2 separate regions of the Homo sapiens genome follow, and region 1 is linked to region 2. The links are contacts of gene promoters, found by promoter capture Hi-C in human tissues and cell types (Jung and others, 2019). All regions are on one chromosome and are shown on one strand. The core of a region is centred on a gene start or on the middle of the fragment in contact, and the rest is flanking DNA. Distances in the headings are between cores, read along the strand shown. Region 1 overlaps WDR45B (WD repeat domain 45B). Region 2 holds the start of UTS2R (urotensin 2 receptor).

Evidence for each region. Contacts are between HindIII fragments. The study calls those that stand out against the background at their distance.
Region 1: a fragment that was not itself captured here is called in contact with the fragment with the promoter of UTS2R in region 2 in 5 of the 25 tissues and cell types used here (IMR-90 fibroblasts, dorsolateral prefrontal cortex, liver and 2 more).

The regions. Positions count from the first base shown.
Region 1 is chr17:82,635,938-82,643,219 of GRCh38, forward strand. All of the region lies in intron 2 of WDR45B (WD repeat domain 45B), which reads right to left. Among named protein-coding and RNA genes, the nearest start is that of WDR45B, 8.9 kb to the right of the region's middle. The HindIII fragment of the contact is 7,436 bases long and covers 1-6,295 here.
Region 2 is chr17:82,368,293-82,375,482 of GRCh38, forward strand. UTS2R (urotensin 2 receptor) reads left to right here and starts at 3,473. Exons shown (of 3, transcript NM_018949.3): 1 at 3,473-3,755; 2 at 4,306-4,491; 3 at 5,951-7,190. The coding sequence starts at 6,033. The HindIII fragment of the contact is 34,629 bases long and covers 1-7,190 here.

The DNA of each region.
Region 1 (7,282 bases), core at 1,328-3,827, 270 kb after region 2:
CTTGCCAGGTGTGGTGGCGCATGCCTATAATCCCAGCTACTCGAGAAGTTGGGGCAGGAGAATCACTTGAACCCGGGAGGCAGAGGGTGCGGTGAGCCGAGATCGCGTCACTGCACTCTAGCCTGGGCAACAAGAGTGAAACTTCGTCTCTCAAATAAATACATAAATAAAAAATAAAAATACAAAAATCAGCCAGCTGTGTAGTCCCAGCTACTCGGGAGGCTGAGGCAGGAGAATCACTTGAACCCGGCAGGTGGAGGTTGCAGTGAGCCGAGATCACGCCACTGCACTCCAGCCTGGGTGACAGAGCAAGACTCCGTCTCAAAAAAAAAAAAAAAAAAAGAAGACAAACACAGTCAGTCACAGGCACAGTTAGCTATGCGGTCTCTGGGTTTTAAAAATGGAAAGAAAAAAAAGAAAAACAGATTTTTCAGAATCAAGTGAAGAGGCAGAGAAGGAGAGTTAAGGCCTTTCCTGGAATGAGAAGTAATCAAAGGTAAGAGCCAAACTTCAGGAATTAGAGAGGACTTCTAAACCCCGCCAAAGAGATTCTCCCATAATACCTGACCCCCACCTCCTGCAGCTGAAGAGGGGGAAAGGGTCTCCCCACAGAAAGACCAGGGTTACATTCAGAGCTTTCTATGTTCCAGATCCCAAGGGCTGGTACTGAAATATTACAAAGGATATTCGTTGTTACAGAAAAATGTAAGATACAATAAATCTTTCTGAGTTTCTCTTCAAAGGGTTTATTTAGCCTGTTAACTTCCTTATCCTTTGTTCTCGAACTCGACTTTCTTGTTCTTCCTTGCCCCTAGTTACTGTAAACAGCCTACCCGCTTCCCGTCAACTCTAATCAATAACTCACACCTGTTCCCTTGGTTACCTGTACACATTGTTCCCCTGAAACTGCACGTCTCACACGCTCCACCTCTGTACCTCACATCCCCCTCCCCTTCTATATTTAGAAAAATATGTACAAGTAGCCTATTGGGTCAGCTCAGATTGTGCAGTCCGACCCCAGCCCATAGGGGAGTGACACAGAGATAGGGACTGCGTTCAGGATAAAAACCCCCGGTCTCCTTTGTTCTCTGTGCTCTTGCCATCTTGACTGATGCAAGGGGCACCCTTCTGCAGAAGTAAATTGCCTTACTGAGAGAATTAAACTTTTGCCTGAGTGCTGGTTTTACTTCACAGCACTGAGCATTTATTTATTCCTGGAACATTTTATACCCACAAAAAGAAGAAATGCCCAAGCCTGCCCAGGATGTCAGCGTCTACATCTCTAAGGGTCCCTGGCGGTCGGACTTGTCTGTAACAGCAACTAAAATTGCAGCAATAGGTTGCGTAGGACACAAAACAGGCTCCTACTAAACATCAGCTGAGGAAAACTTGAGGTACACCCCAGTCCTTGTGGTACAGAGAAAAACCCTCTCCTCTAATCATGGTCTCTATTCTCACACAATCACCAACACAGAAGACTTCTGTGACTAAAGCAGAAACCGCACAGCAAACCCCAGCTGGTCTTCCTCTAACTCAGTTCTGACACCATCTACCTGGAGAGAGTATTAGATCCCACAGGTTGAAGGCTCAGTCCCCAAGACCGACTGCACCACACACCAGTCACAAGTTAGAACCTTCAAAACTTCTGACTGACCAGCTTCAAGTTGGGGTTCCCGTGACCCCTTCTTTGGGTTCAATTTGCTGGCACGGCTCACCGAACTCAGGGAAACACTTCCTTATGTTTACCAGTTTATAACAAAGAATATTACAAAGGATACAGATGAAGAGATGCATAGGGCAAGGTATTAGGGGAAGGACACAAAGCTTCCGTGAAGCTCTCTGAACCCCGTCTCCTTGGGATTTTATGGAAGCTTCATGATATCAGCATTCCTTTCCCAGGGGCAGAGGGTACGGCCTTCTCTGGGGAGGGTCCTGAGACCCACAATTAGAAAGGGTGGGGGTGTGGTGGTTAATGCCTGTAATCCCAGCACTCTGGGAGGCCGAGGCAGACAAATAACTTGAAGTCAAGAGTTCGAGACCAGCCTGGTCAACGTGGTGAAACCCCATCTCTACTAAAAATACAAAACAAACAAAAAAACGTAGCCAGGTGTGGTGGCATGTGCCTGTAATCCCAGCTACTTGGAAGGCTGAGGCACGAGAATCGCTTGAACCCATGAGGTGGAGGTTGCAGTGAGCCAAGATGGAGCCACTGCACTCCAGCCTGGGAGAGATTCTGTCAAAGAAGAGGGGAGGCGAGGGAAAGGGAGGGGAGGGAAAGGGAGGGGAGGGGAGAGGAGGGGAGGGGAGGGGAGGGGAGGGGAGGGGAGGGGAGGGGGGAGGAGGAAAGAAAGAAAGAAAAAAGAAAAGAAAGGAAGGAAGGTGGGGTGGTGGTGGGGAGACAGGACACGTTAGGGTGAAAGGGGGGTAGGAGAAGGTCAGAGGCCTCCCCTGAGGGCCAATATTGTAACAAAAAGACTAACCAGGTCTGTGGGAGTTACCGGCCAGGGTGAAAACCAAAATATATAATTACACCACATCTTGACAGGCCCAGACTCTCCCAACAGAGCCTGCTGCAAAACACAAGAAACTAATAAAAGAAAATGGGGAAAGGGGATGTCTGAATACTGGCATAACTTCTATTCCACTAAGAGATGCTTGAAAAATGAATCACTTTATACAAATGAGTGAAAATCAACCATTCTAGCACTTGAGGCTAATAACCTTTTTATTTTTGCCTCTGTCATGTCGTGCAGTCCCTGTTTCTCGTTCCTATTTCTGTGGAGTTTTATTTTTAAAGAAAACCTTATTTCCCATTATAAAAATTATGCATCATTTCTATAAAACAACACAGAAAAGCATAAAGTAGAAAACACTGTGAAACAACATCATTTATGTACTTTTTTTGAGACAGAGTCTCGCTCTGTCACCAGGCTGGAGTGCAGTGGCACGATCTCGGCTCACTGTAACCTCCGCCTCCTGGGTTCAAGTGATTCTCCTGCCTCAGCCTTCCAAGTAGCTGGGACTACAGGCACCCACCACCATGCCCGGCTAATTTTTTTATTTTTAGTAGAGATGGGGTTTCACCATGTTGGCCAGGATGGTCTCGATCTCCTGACCTCGTGATCCACCTGCCTCGGCCTCCTAAAGTGCTGGGATTACAGGCATGAGCCACTCTGCCTGGCCACGTATGTTCTAAACTTTGTGCATAGATATTTTGTTCCTATAACACCATCTATGCTATTCTCTACTTTCTTTTTCCTTTAACAATGCCATGGCCATCTCTCCAAATGAGGATTCAGATTGGTCTCGGCATTCTTACCGCATGAAGCACCATTTTGAGGATGTGCCACAACCACAGTAATCACCCCTTTCATGAAAGTCATTCGGGTTCTCCAATTTTCCACTCTTGGAAACAGCGTTGCAAGTAATATTGGTATACAGGCACCAAACAGTACATCTATAATGAACACAGCTTGCCAAATTACTCCACAAGGCTCTACCAATTTAACCTTCTACCACCAGGTTACCAAACTTCCCCTTTCCACCTCCTTCCCAAAGCTACCCACCACCTCTGTGTCCTCCCCACCCGCAGGAACCACCTGCTACCTACACATTGCAGGCCTCCCATTTCTCTAGCACCTTCACCTGGCACGCTGGGTGAGCACACAGCACGAAGCCTGCAGGACCTGTTGTGAAGCTAGATGTGCTGAGGCTGCCGGGCTGTGTGTGTGTCGGGTCTGGCGGGCTGCTGGGCTGTGTCAGGTCGAGAGGGCTGCCAGGCTGTGTGTCAGGTCAGGTAGGCTGCTGGGCTGTGTGTAGGTGGGGCGGGCTGCTGGGCTGTGTGTGTGTGGGGTCGGGAGGGCTGCTGGGCTGTGTGTGTGTCAGGTCGGGAGGGCTGCCGGGCTGTGTGTCGGGTCAGGTGGGCTGCCGAGCTGTGTGTGGGTCGGGAGGGCTGCTGGGTTGTGTGTGTGTCGGGTCAGGTGGGCTGCTGGGCTGTGTGTGTGTCGGGTCAGGTGGGCTGCTGGGCTGTGTGTGGGTCGGGAGGGTGGCTGGGCTGTGTGTGTGGAAAGAACAAACCTGGGTGTACAATGGATGCAGGACCTATGTCGGGGAGCAGGGTTGGACAACACTGCCCCCCAAGACTGAAGGAGCAGGGATCCCCAAGAAGGCTTCCCTGAACTACCAGCTTCCCGTTCCTGCCAAGTGGCAGAAGGCGTATCTGGAAACAGCAGCCTGCTCAGAGCCCACAGTCTCCTTACTCAATGCACAGTCACCCTGGAGAGAACCATGCCACAAGCCCAGATCCAGGACACACTGTCATGCAGGCTTCCTTCCCCACCACTCAGGAAAGCAAACTGCTACAATTAAAAAGGAACAAGGGCAAGTCTGGTGCTGCTCTTCACTGGGATTTTTTTCTTTTTTTTTTTTTTTTAAGACAGAGTCTCACTCTGCCATCAGGCTGCAGTGCAGTGGCGAGATCTCGGCTCACTGCAACCTCCGACTCCCTGGTTCAAGCAATTCTCCTGCCTCAGCCTCCCGAGTAGCTGGGATTAAAGGCACGCACCACCAGGTCCAGCTAATTTTTGTATTTTTAGTAGAGATGGGGTTTCACTGTGCCGGCCAGGATGGTTTCGATCTCCTGACCTCGTGATCTGCCCACCTTGGCCTCCCAAAGTGCTGGGATTAGAGGCCTGGCCTGCTCTTCATTGTTAAACTGTAAGCTGCCAGACGCAGAGCAGCAGATGAGTCTGTAAGTGCAGAGCCAAACTGTTTAAATGTGCCATCAAAAAGACAGTGTGGCCCTACTGTATCCATTTCACATTAGGGCCTATCTACTCACATAAGCTGGAAACGGGAGCACACCACACATGCACATGTGAGAACTCACTGCATGCTAAGCTCAGGGACAGCCTGCCCCAGACACAGCCGAGCTGGCAGACGCACAAGACCGGGTATATGTGTGTGATGAGCTAAACCATGACAATGGTATACTTTTCTGGAATTTAGAAGTTTTAGATGTTTCTTGTCTGGGTTTTTTTTTTTTTTGAGACGGAGTCTTGCTCTGTCGCCCAGGATGGAGTGCAGTGGCGCAATCTCGGCTCACTGCAACCTCGGCCTCCCGGGTTTAAGTGATTCTCGTGCCTCAACCTCCCCAGTAATTTGAATTACAGGTATGCGCCACCACGCCTGGCTAACTTTTTGTATTTGTAGTAGAGATGGGGTTTCACCGTGTTGCCCAGGCTGGTCTCGAACTCCTGAGCTCAGGCAATCTGCTCGCCTCAGCCTCCCAAAGTGCTGGGATTACAGGCGTGAGCCACCGTGCGGGCCGTCAAACTCATTTTTATAAGAAATGTTGAATTTACTGTAAACACTTCATTAATTAGGAAGCAGTTGTTAATATGCTGTTGTGGTGTTATGAGAGAGACACATACAGGTTTTCACCCACGGTTCCTGGCTCATAACTCCCAGACCTTGTTACAATCTTTTGTTATAATATTGGGTGTGTTAGGCCCTCAGGAACCAGAATCTCTCTCCTGCCCTTTCACCTGCTAAGGCAGAACTCAAATCTTCTCCACCTGATTGTGGGTCTGAAGAACCTCCATAGAGAAGCTCCCACCCTGCACACTAGGAGAAGCAATGCAGATACTATGAAGCTTCCTTAAAAATCCAAGAGGTGGCCGGGGTGCGGTGGCTCATGCCTGTAATCCCAGCACTTTGGGAGGACAAGGTGGGCGGATCACGAGGTCAGGAGATCAAGACCATCCTGGCTAACACAGTGAAACACCGTCTCTACCAAACATACAAAAAAAATTAGCCAGGCGTGGTGGCAGGTGCCTGCAATCCCAGCTACTCGGGAGGCTGAGGCAGGAGAAAGGCCTGAACCCGGGAGGCGGAGCTTGCAGTGAGCCGAGATCACACCACTGCACTCCAGCCTGGGCAACAGAGCGAGACAACGTCAGAGATAGATATGTATATATCTCCAAGAGGTATTTTCTGTAACACATGTGGGAAAAAAGAGAAAAAAAAAATCAAAGAAAAATGAATTTTGAAGTAAAAAAATAAAAAACATAAAAATCCAAGAGGTCAGCTGAACACATGGAAGGTTCTGGAGGGTGGCAGCCGAGGGAGGGCTTGGAAACTCCATAGCCTGTCCCCCCACACCTTGTTCCGTGCTTGCCCTCATCTGTATTCTTGGCAATTATCCTTTACAATGGGTCTGCAACCCCGGGGCAGTACTGGTCCGTGGCCTGTTAGGAACCAGGCTGCACAGCAGGACGCAAGCAGCAGGCGAACAAGCATCCCCACCAAGCTCTGCCCCGACAGATCAGCGGCAGCATACGATTCTCACAGAAGCATGAACCCCACTGTGAACGGCACACGCGAGGGATGGAGGCTGCACGCTCCTCCTGAGACTCTAATGCCTGATGATCTGAGTGGGAACAGTTTCATCCCGAAACCATCCCCCTATGAAAAAAACTGTCTTCCATGAAACCAGTCCCCGGTGCCGAAAAGGCTGCAGACCGCTGCTTTATAATAAACTGGTAAATGTGCTTCCCCAAGTTCTGGGAGCCGCTCCAGCACATTAATTGAATCCAAGGAGGGGGCTGTGGGAACCCCAACTTGAAGCCAGTCAGTCTGAAGTTTAGGAGGCCCAGACTCATGCATGGTGGGGACTGGGGCAGTCTTGGGGACTGAGCCCTCAACCTGTGGGATCTGACTCTATCTCTAGGTAGATGGCGTCAGAACTGAAAGGACACCCAGCTGGTGTCCACTGCTTGGTGTGTGGGGAGAAATTCCCCACATTCAGTCACAGAAGTCTTCTGTGCTGACAACTGTCGTGCTGTTAAGAGTGGAGAGAAAACATGGCTGGGGGGTTTTTCCCACACAGCTGCTAATGATTCAACTTGGACACCAACGTCTACAACTCTCCTGTAAGCTTCTGGGTCAATTCAGTAAAAAGTATCCTGAGATTTGCAAGTCAAGCTGTTTTAAAATGTTTTGCAACTACTTATCTGCATAAATCCCATCATTATCCCATCATACATTTATCTGCATAAATCCCATCATACAGTGTATGTGGCATCATACACTCCACAGCACCTAATGTGCGCGCAGGCATTAATCTGCGTGTCTTACGCACCCTGACTCATTTTTACAATAACTCTGAGGCAGGCATTGTTATCAACCTTATTTCACGTACAAAGAAAGTGAGGTGGCCGGGGACGGTGGCTCACGTCTGTAATCCCAGCACTTTGAGAGGCCGAGGTGCATGGATCATGAG
Region 2 (7,190 bases), core at 2,223-4,722:
CTGATAAGAATAGATCAAACCAGCTATTTTGCAGGCTAGTAAAATTTCATCTTAAACTTCTTTGATTTGGGTGAGGGCAACTAAGAGGGGGTTAAAAGGGAGTGGATGAGGCCGACAAGCAGGCATCCACTATCCAAGCTGGGGCCTAGTATATCCTGTTCTTCTGTAGTTTGCTGACCTAAGCCGATTCAAGGCACACTGTCTTGGAAATGGACCACTGTATACATTATTTCCTTCACCCTTTAAAAAATTTTTTTAGAAATAGAAATGGAGGGTCTCATTATGTGCCCAGGCTGGTCTCAAACTTCTAGACTCGAGTGATCATCCTGCCTCAGTTTTCAAAAGTACTGGGATTGGCCGGGTGCGGTGGCTCATGCCTGTAATCCTAGCACTTTGGGAGGCCGAGGTGGGCAGATCACGAGGTCAGGAGTTCAAGACCAGCCTGGCCAAGATAGTGAAAGCCCATCTCTACTAAAAATACAAAAATTAGGCTGAGAGCGGTGGTGGGCACCTGTAATCCCAGCACTTTGGGAGGCCGAGGCGGGCGGATCACGAGGTCAGGAGATCGAGACCATCCTGGCTAACACAGTGAAACCCCGTCTCTACTAAAAATACAAAAAATTAGCCAGGCACGGTGGTGGGCACCTGTAGTCCCAGCTACTCGGGAGGCTGAGGCAGGAGAATGGCATGAACCCGGGAGGCAGAGCTTGCAGTGAGCCGAGATTGCGCCACTGCACTCCAGCCTGGGCGACCAGCGAGACTCTGTCTCAAAAAAAAAAAAAAAAATACAAAAATTAGTTGGGTGTGGTGGTGGGCACCTGTAATCCCAGTCACTCGGGAGGCTGAGGCAGAGAATTGCTTGAACCTGGGAGGCGGAGGTTGCAGTGAGTCAAGATCACGCCACTGCACTCCAGCCTGGGCGACAGAGTGAGACTCCATCTCAAAAAAAAAAAAAAAAAAAAAAGTGCTGGGATTACAGGTGTTAGCCACAGTGCCCAGCCTGGGAATTTCTAATAAAAGAGTCAAATGGGGTTGGGCGTAGTGGCTGGGCAACATGGTGAAACTTGTCTCTACAAAAAATACAAAAATTAGCCAAGTGTAGTGTAGCGGTGCATGTCTGTAGTCCCAGCTACTCGGGAGGTAGGAGAATTGCTTGAGTGTAGGAAGTCAAAGAAAGCTGCGGTGAGCCATGATCACACCCCTGCACTCCAGCCTGGGCGAGCCTAGGCTAGACCTTAGAGCGAGACCCTGTCTCAAATAAAGAAAGAAATACATTCCCATTTTCTGGTGAAAATTTCCATCTTTTCATGCATGTTGCCCAGGTTCTTCTGCTTGCTTTACTATATTTGTAACAGTTTTTGTAAAACAGAAACTCCTGGTCTGCTAATTCCAATACTTGTGTCACATATGGACCTGCTTCTATCGGCTATTTTTCCCCCATCAATTATGGATCACATAAGATATGAAGCAGCAAGGAAACAATAATCAGATTATTATTTCCTTGCTGAAGCATTTTATACATAGCAACTGTCAAAGTCCAAATATACAGACAAATCTTTAAGTTTAATGTTTAATTTTAGGAAGAATTTCAATTCGGTATGTTCAAGAACAAAAGAAAATCGGGATTCTTTTGGAAAGAGAAACGTTATCTATTGCTTTGAAAGAAAGCCCGTTGGCACTGGTAGTTCGGGGGAGCTGGCAAGCTCAGGCGAGTGGCCTCAGTGGTAAAACCAGCACTGGAGGCCAGGCACGGTGGCTCACGCCTGTAATCCTAGCACTTTGGGAGGCTGAGGTGGGCAGATCACCTGAGCTCAGGAGTTCGAGACCTACCCGGCCAACATGATGAAACCCCGTCTACTACAAACACAAAAATTAGCTGGGTGTGGTGGCGGGTGCCTGTAATCCCAGCTACTTGGGAGGCTGAGGCAGGAGAATTGCTTGAGCCTGGGAGGTGGAGGTTGCAGTGAGCCGAGGTTGCAGTGAGCCGAGATCGCACCACTGCACTCCAGCCCGGGTGAAAGAGTGAGACCCCATCTCAAAAAAATAAATAAATAAATAATAAAAAAATAAAATAAAAAATAAAAAACCCGGTGTTCGTGTCAGGGCAGGTCGTTTCAGCAGCTACTCGGTGAACTGGCTGAGGTGACAGCAGATCGTTTCGGCAGCTGGCTTGCGGGAAATTTAATTCTTGGAGCAGGCATTCTGGGTCCTGAGTGCTTTTCCCCAGCCCTAGCCCCTAGACTCCAGCTTAGTAATCAGCTCTCACAGAACCATCACGTCGGAGGCAGCCTTCCACCCCCTTTCCTCCCGCGCACAGGCAGGATGAGCTGCTCCCCTTTCGGGTCGGAAGCTGCAGCTGTATTTGGTTTCAGTTCGGCTGTTTTCAGCTCACAGAGAATGAACTGTCTTATTGTGTGACCCTTGCTCCGTCCAGCGGACGCTCGGAGACCAGAGGGACTTTTCCCGCCCTCTCCAGCCCAGCCTCGCCTCCCCAGCACGTGGCAAACGTCCCACGGAGGGGACTGGTGGGCATCTGGGGCTCCCCCGGATCCAGCTGATTGCAGGAGCCTCTCGGCCATTCACACTTGGCCACCTCCTCTCCCCCAGCAGAACCCCTTCAGCTTTAGGGGCCGGTCCGCGGCCTCAGGCAGCAGATGAGCCCCGGGCGGAGTGGAGTGGGCGAGGCCAGCTCCTCGCTGGGGGCCCTTTAGACCCCGTGTTCACAGCTCTCCAGCTCTCCTCTAGTCTAATTTATTAATGTTCTGTGTCTTTTTCTTTCAGGGGTTCAGCATGAGTGAAGGCCCACATCCTACCTCCGAGCAGCAAGTGAAACCGAGTGGGGGCCAGCACCCAGCTCAGGGGCTCGAGGGTGAGGCTGTGGGGTCCTTCCTCCTACCCCGCGGGGCCCTGCAGCTCCCAGCGTCACTTCCGTGGATGTGGCCACCACGAGTCCCTGCCGAGGCCTGGAGAGGCTGCGTGGGCTTCTAAGAGCATCTGTGGGAGACCCGCAACAGGGGCGGGGTCAAGGCCCCCAAAGAGCCCGTCCCCGCCTGGGCGGGTGACTCCCTCCCTCCCTTACCTCCTTTCTATGACCCTCTCGGGGTTTAGGGGTGTTCCTGCCCCCCACCTGCGCGCGGGCGGGTCCAGGGCTTGGTGGACACGGAGAATCCCAGGCTCCGTGCCCTGCAAACACGGGCGTGAGGGGCGCAGGGGTGAACGCTGGAGGCGGAGAACCCAAGAGGGGCTGCGGGGTCAGCCTTGGGGCAGCCGGGCTGGAGGCAGCTTCGCTCCGCAGACGCAGACGCGAGACCCGCCTGGGACCCTCCGCCGACCCCGCTGCGGCCCCGCGACCCCCGCGTCTTCCCGGCGCCGCGCGGTCAGCGCCGCCCCCTAGACACCCGGCGCCGTCCCCTCCGCGCGCCTGCTGCCCGCTGGGGTTATTTTAATACCGGGCCCTGGCGCGGGGCGCGGCGCATTCCCAGCTGGCGGCGGGCAGGTGGCGGCGGCGCAGAGACCCGGCGCGGGGCGGGGGGCGCGGCTTTGGTGGCGGGACTGGCGGGCGCCCCTGCCGTGTGCTCTGGAAGCCGAGGCCACCGCGGAGCCCCTCGCGCCCCCTCTGCGCTGGGACAGGGGAGCGCGCCTCGGAAAGTTCCCCGCGGCCCCGCTGCGCGAGGAGTTTGGAGCCGCGAGCGGCTGCCCCCACGCGCGACCCCAGGCTCGGCGGGCAGGTCTGGCCGCTCAGTGACCGGAGGCAGGTGGGTCCTCGGTGGGTGACCGGGAGCGCGCGGGGACTGCCGGGTCTGTGCCCTTCGGGGCCCTCCGCAGGGCTGGGCCGGGGTTTCGCGGTGGGAACCCACCCTGGGCGAGGGGAGCGGGGTCCAGCGAGGCGGCTTCTCCCGTGCCGTGGAACTTTCGGCCCCTCCCCTTCCCCCCTAGCGACCCTGGAGCAATCCTAGCGGCCCGGCGGCCGCTGTCCCCCTGCCCGTGACTCGGGCTCGCGCACAACTGGGGAGCCCGGTGCACCCTCGGCTTCTGCGCCGTCCCCTGGGTGAGGGCTCTGGAAATGCCCTGGGTGGGGGCAGCAAGGGGGTGAGGGTCCCCTGGACAGATGGAGCTGGGAGCTGCTCGGCCTGGTGGGAAAGGGCGGACAGGGCACATTTCCAGGCCCTGGAAGGCCCCCAGCGCCCCCACCTGTTGACAACTCCCCACCCCAGCCAAGACTGCTCCCTGCGCAGCCATGAGTGTTCGGCCTAAATTCAGCGTGGCTCGTGGAATCAGGCAGCCTCCTGTGTCTTGTTTCTTCAGCCCACCACCGCGCTGTTTCATCCAGGCTGCTGACCCCAGCGGCGACTCCTTCACTGGCTTCATGTCACAGTTTGCCTGCCCCGTCCACTGGGGACATTTGAGCTGTTTCCAGCTTCTTAGGAGTCAAGCTGCCGTGAACTTTCGCACGCTTGTCATTTTCTGAACGTTGGCAGCCCTTTATCTAAGGTACTAACCTGAGAGTAGAATTGCCGGGTGAGAAGGTATAGGCGGTCAACTCTGCAAATCGTGCCAATGGCTTTCCAAAGCGGCGGCACAGTCCAGGTTCCCAGCAACAGGAAACGGCAGGGCCAGCTCCTCCACAGCCCCCACGCCTGTTGACAAGGATATCTGCCTTTTCACGCGTTCATCCTTGTCAGCACGCAGGGGCTCCTGTGGCCCTGACTGGCATTTCCCTGCTTGTTGGCTGCGTGGGTGTCCTTTTCAGGAAGTCCCCGGTCACGGTTTTGGTCTCTTTTTTTCAAATGGGTTGTTTGTCTTTTCCTTACTAATTTGCAGTTCTTCCCTATATTTTTCTTACCAGCTTTTTGTCTATGTTTCTTCTTTTTTTTTTTCTCTGAGACAAAGTCTCACTTTGTTGCCCAGGCTGGAGTGCGGTGGCACAATCTCAATCTTGGCTCACTGCAACTTCCACCTCCCGAGTTCAAACAATTCTCCTGCCTCAGCCTCCCGAGCAGCTGGGATTACAGGCGTGTGCCACCATGCCCGACTAATTTTTGTATTTTTAGTAGAGACGGGGTTTCGAGATGTTGGCCAGGCCGGTTTCGAACTCCTGACCTCAGGTGATCCACTTGCCTAGGCCTCCTAAAGTGCTGGGATTACAGGCGTGAGCCACTGCAACTGGCCTGATATATGTTTTCTGATGATCTCCTAGCCTGTGGCTTATGATTTCGCTCTCTTGGTAAAGTTCTTAATTTTAATGAAACCCATTTGCTTAGTCTTTTATTGAAAGTATTTTTTGTTCATTTTTAAGAAATATTTTCCCATCCAAGGTTATGCCAGTATTCCCGTTTTCTTCCAGAACCTCGACTGACTGATTTAACCTTTCACACTTAGGCCTGCAATCCATCTTGAATTCGTTTCCCTGTATGAGAAATGGAGATTGCAGAGGCCTTCCTCTCCTTACATGTTCTTCTATTTGGACTTTTAAAGTCAGTAGCTACTAGTTTTGCAATCTAAAGAAAACATTTTTTTAAATGTACAAGTCAAATAAATACGAGAAAGGACTCAGGAGTAAGTGGGCCCCACCTGTGCACAGACAAGAAAGTGAGGCCTGGGGGGGCGCAATGGGCAGAGCCCAGGACTCCCAGTTCTGTCCACTGCCGACCTCTGCCCCAGGGGCTGCCCTCCTGTGTTCCGGCTTTCAGAAAAGCCCAGTTCATCCCAGAGGCCATGGGACCTACAGTGAGGGGGGGGCAGGGGTCCTGCTGGGGCATGCGGGGGTCGGGGAGGGGGGTTGGGGCAGCTCGTCTGGTGGCTCTTGAGTCCTCCTGCAGAGCTGGTGGCTTCCAGAGAGTCCCGAGAGTTGGAGGGCACTGGGGAGCCCACGTGACTCTGTGGGAACGAGGCCATCACAGTGGCCTCCTGGGAGCGGAAGGTGTTGCCTGATTTGCTTCTTTCCCCACAGGCTGAGCTGGTTGCCCACAGGGGCCCCCGCCCCATCTCAGGGAGTGTCCACCCAGCCCTGAGCCCGTCGTGAGGGGTCAGAGATGGCGCTGACCCCCGAGTCCCCGAGCAGCTTCCCTGGGCTGGCCGCCACTGGCAGCTCTGTGCCGGAGCCGCCTGGCGGCCCCAACGCAACCCTCAACAGCTCCTGGGCCAGCCCGACCGAGCCCAGCTCCCTGGAGGACCTGGTGGCCACGGGCACCATTGGGACTCTGCTGTCGGCCATGGGCGTGGTGGGCGTGGTGGGCAACGCCTACACGCTGGTGGTCACCTGCCGCTCCCTGCGTGCGGTGGCCTCCATGTACGTCTACGTGGTCAACCTGGCGCTGGCCGACCTGCTGTACCTGCTCAGCATCCCCTTCATCGTGGCCACCTACGTCACCAAGGAGTGGCACTTCGGGGACGTGGGCTGCCGCGTGCTCTTCGGCCTGGACTTCCTGACCATGCACGCCAGCATCTTCACGCTGACCGTCATGAGCAGCGAGCGCTACGCTGCGGTGCTGCGGCCGCTGGACACCGTGCAGCGCCCCAAGGGCTACCGCAAGCTGCTGGCGCTGGGCACCTGGCTGCTGGCGCTGCTGCTGACGCTGCCCGTGATGCTGGCCATGCGGCTGGTGCGCCGGGGTCCCAAGAGCCTGTGCCTGCCCGCCTGGGGCCCGCGCGCCCACCGCGCCTACCTGACGCTGCTCTTCGCCACCAGCATCGCGGGGCCCGGGCTGCTCATCGGGCTGCTCTACGCGCGCCTGGCCCGCGCCTACCGCCGCTCGCAGCGCGCCTCCTTCAAGCGGGCCCGGCGGCCGGGGGCGCGCGCGCTGCGCCTGGTGCTGGGCATCGTGCTGCTCTTCTGGGCCTGCTTCCTGCCCTTCTGGCTGTGGCAGCTGCTCGCCCAGTACCACCAGGCCCCGCTGGCGCCGCGGACGGCGCGCATCGTCAACTACCTGACCACCTGCCTCACCTACGGCAACAGCTGCGCCAACCCCTTCCTCTACACGCTGCTCACCAGGAACTACCGCGACCACCTGCGCGGCCGCGTGCGGGGCCCGGGCAGCGGGGGAGGCCGGGGGCCCGTTCCCTCCCTGCAGCCCCGCGCCCGCTTCCAGCGCTGTTCGGGCCGCTCCCTGTCTTCCTGCAGCCCACAGCCCACTGACAGCCTCGTGCTGGCCCCAGCGGCCCCGGCCCGACCTGCGCCCGAGGGTCCCAGG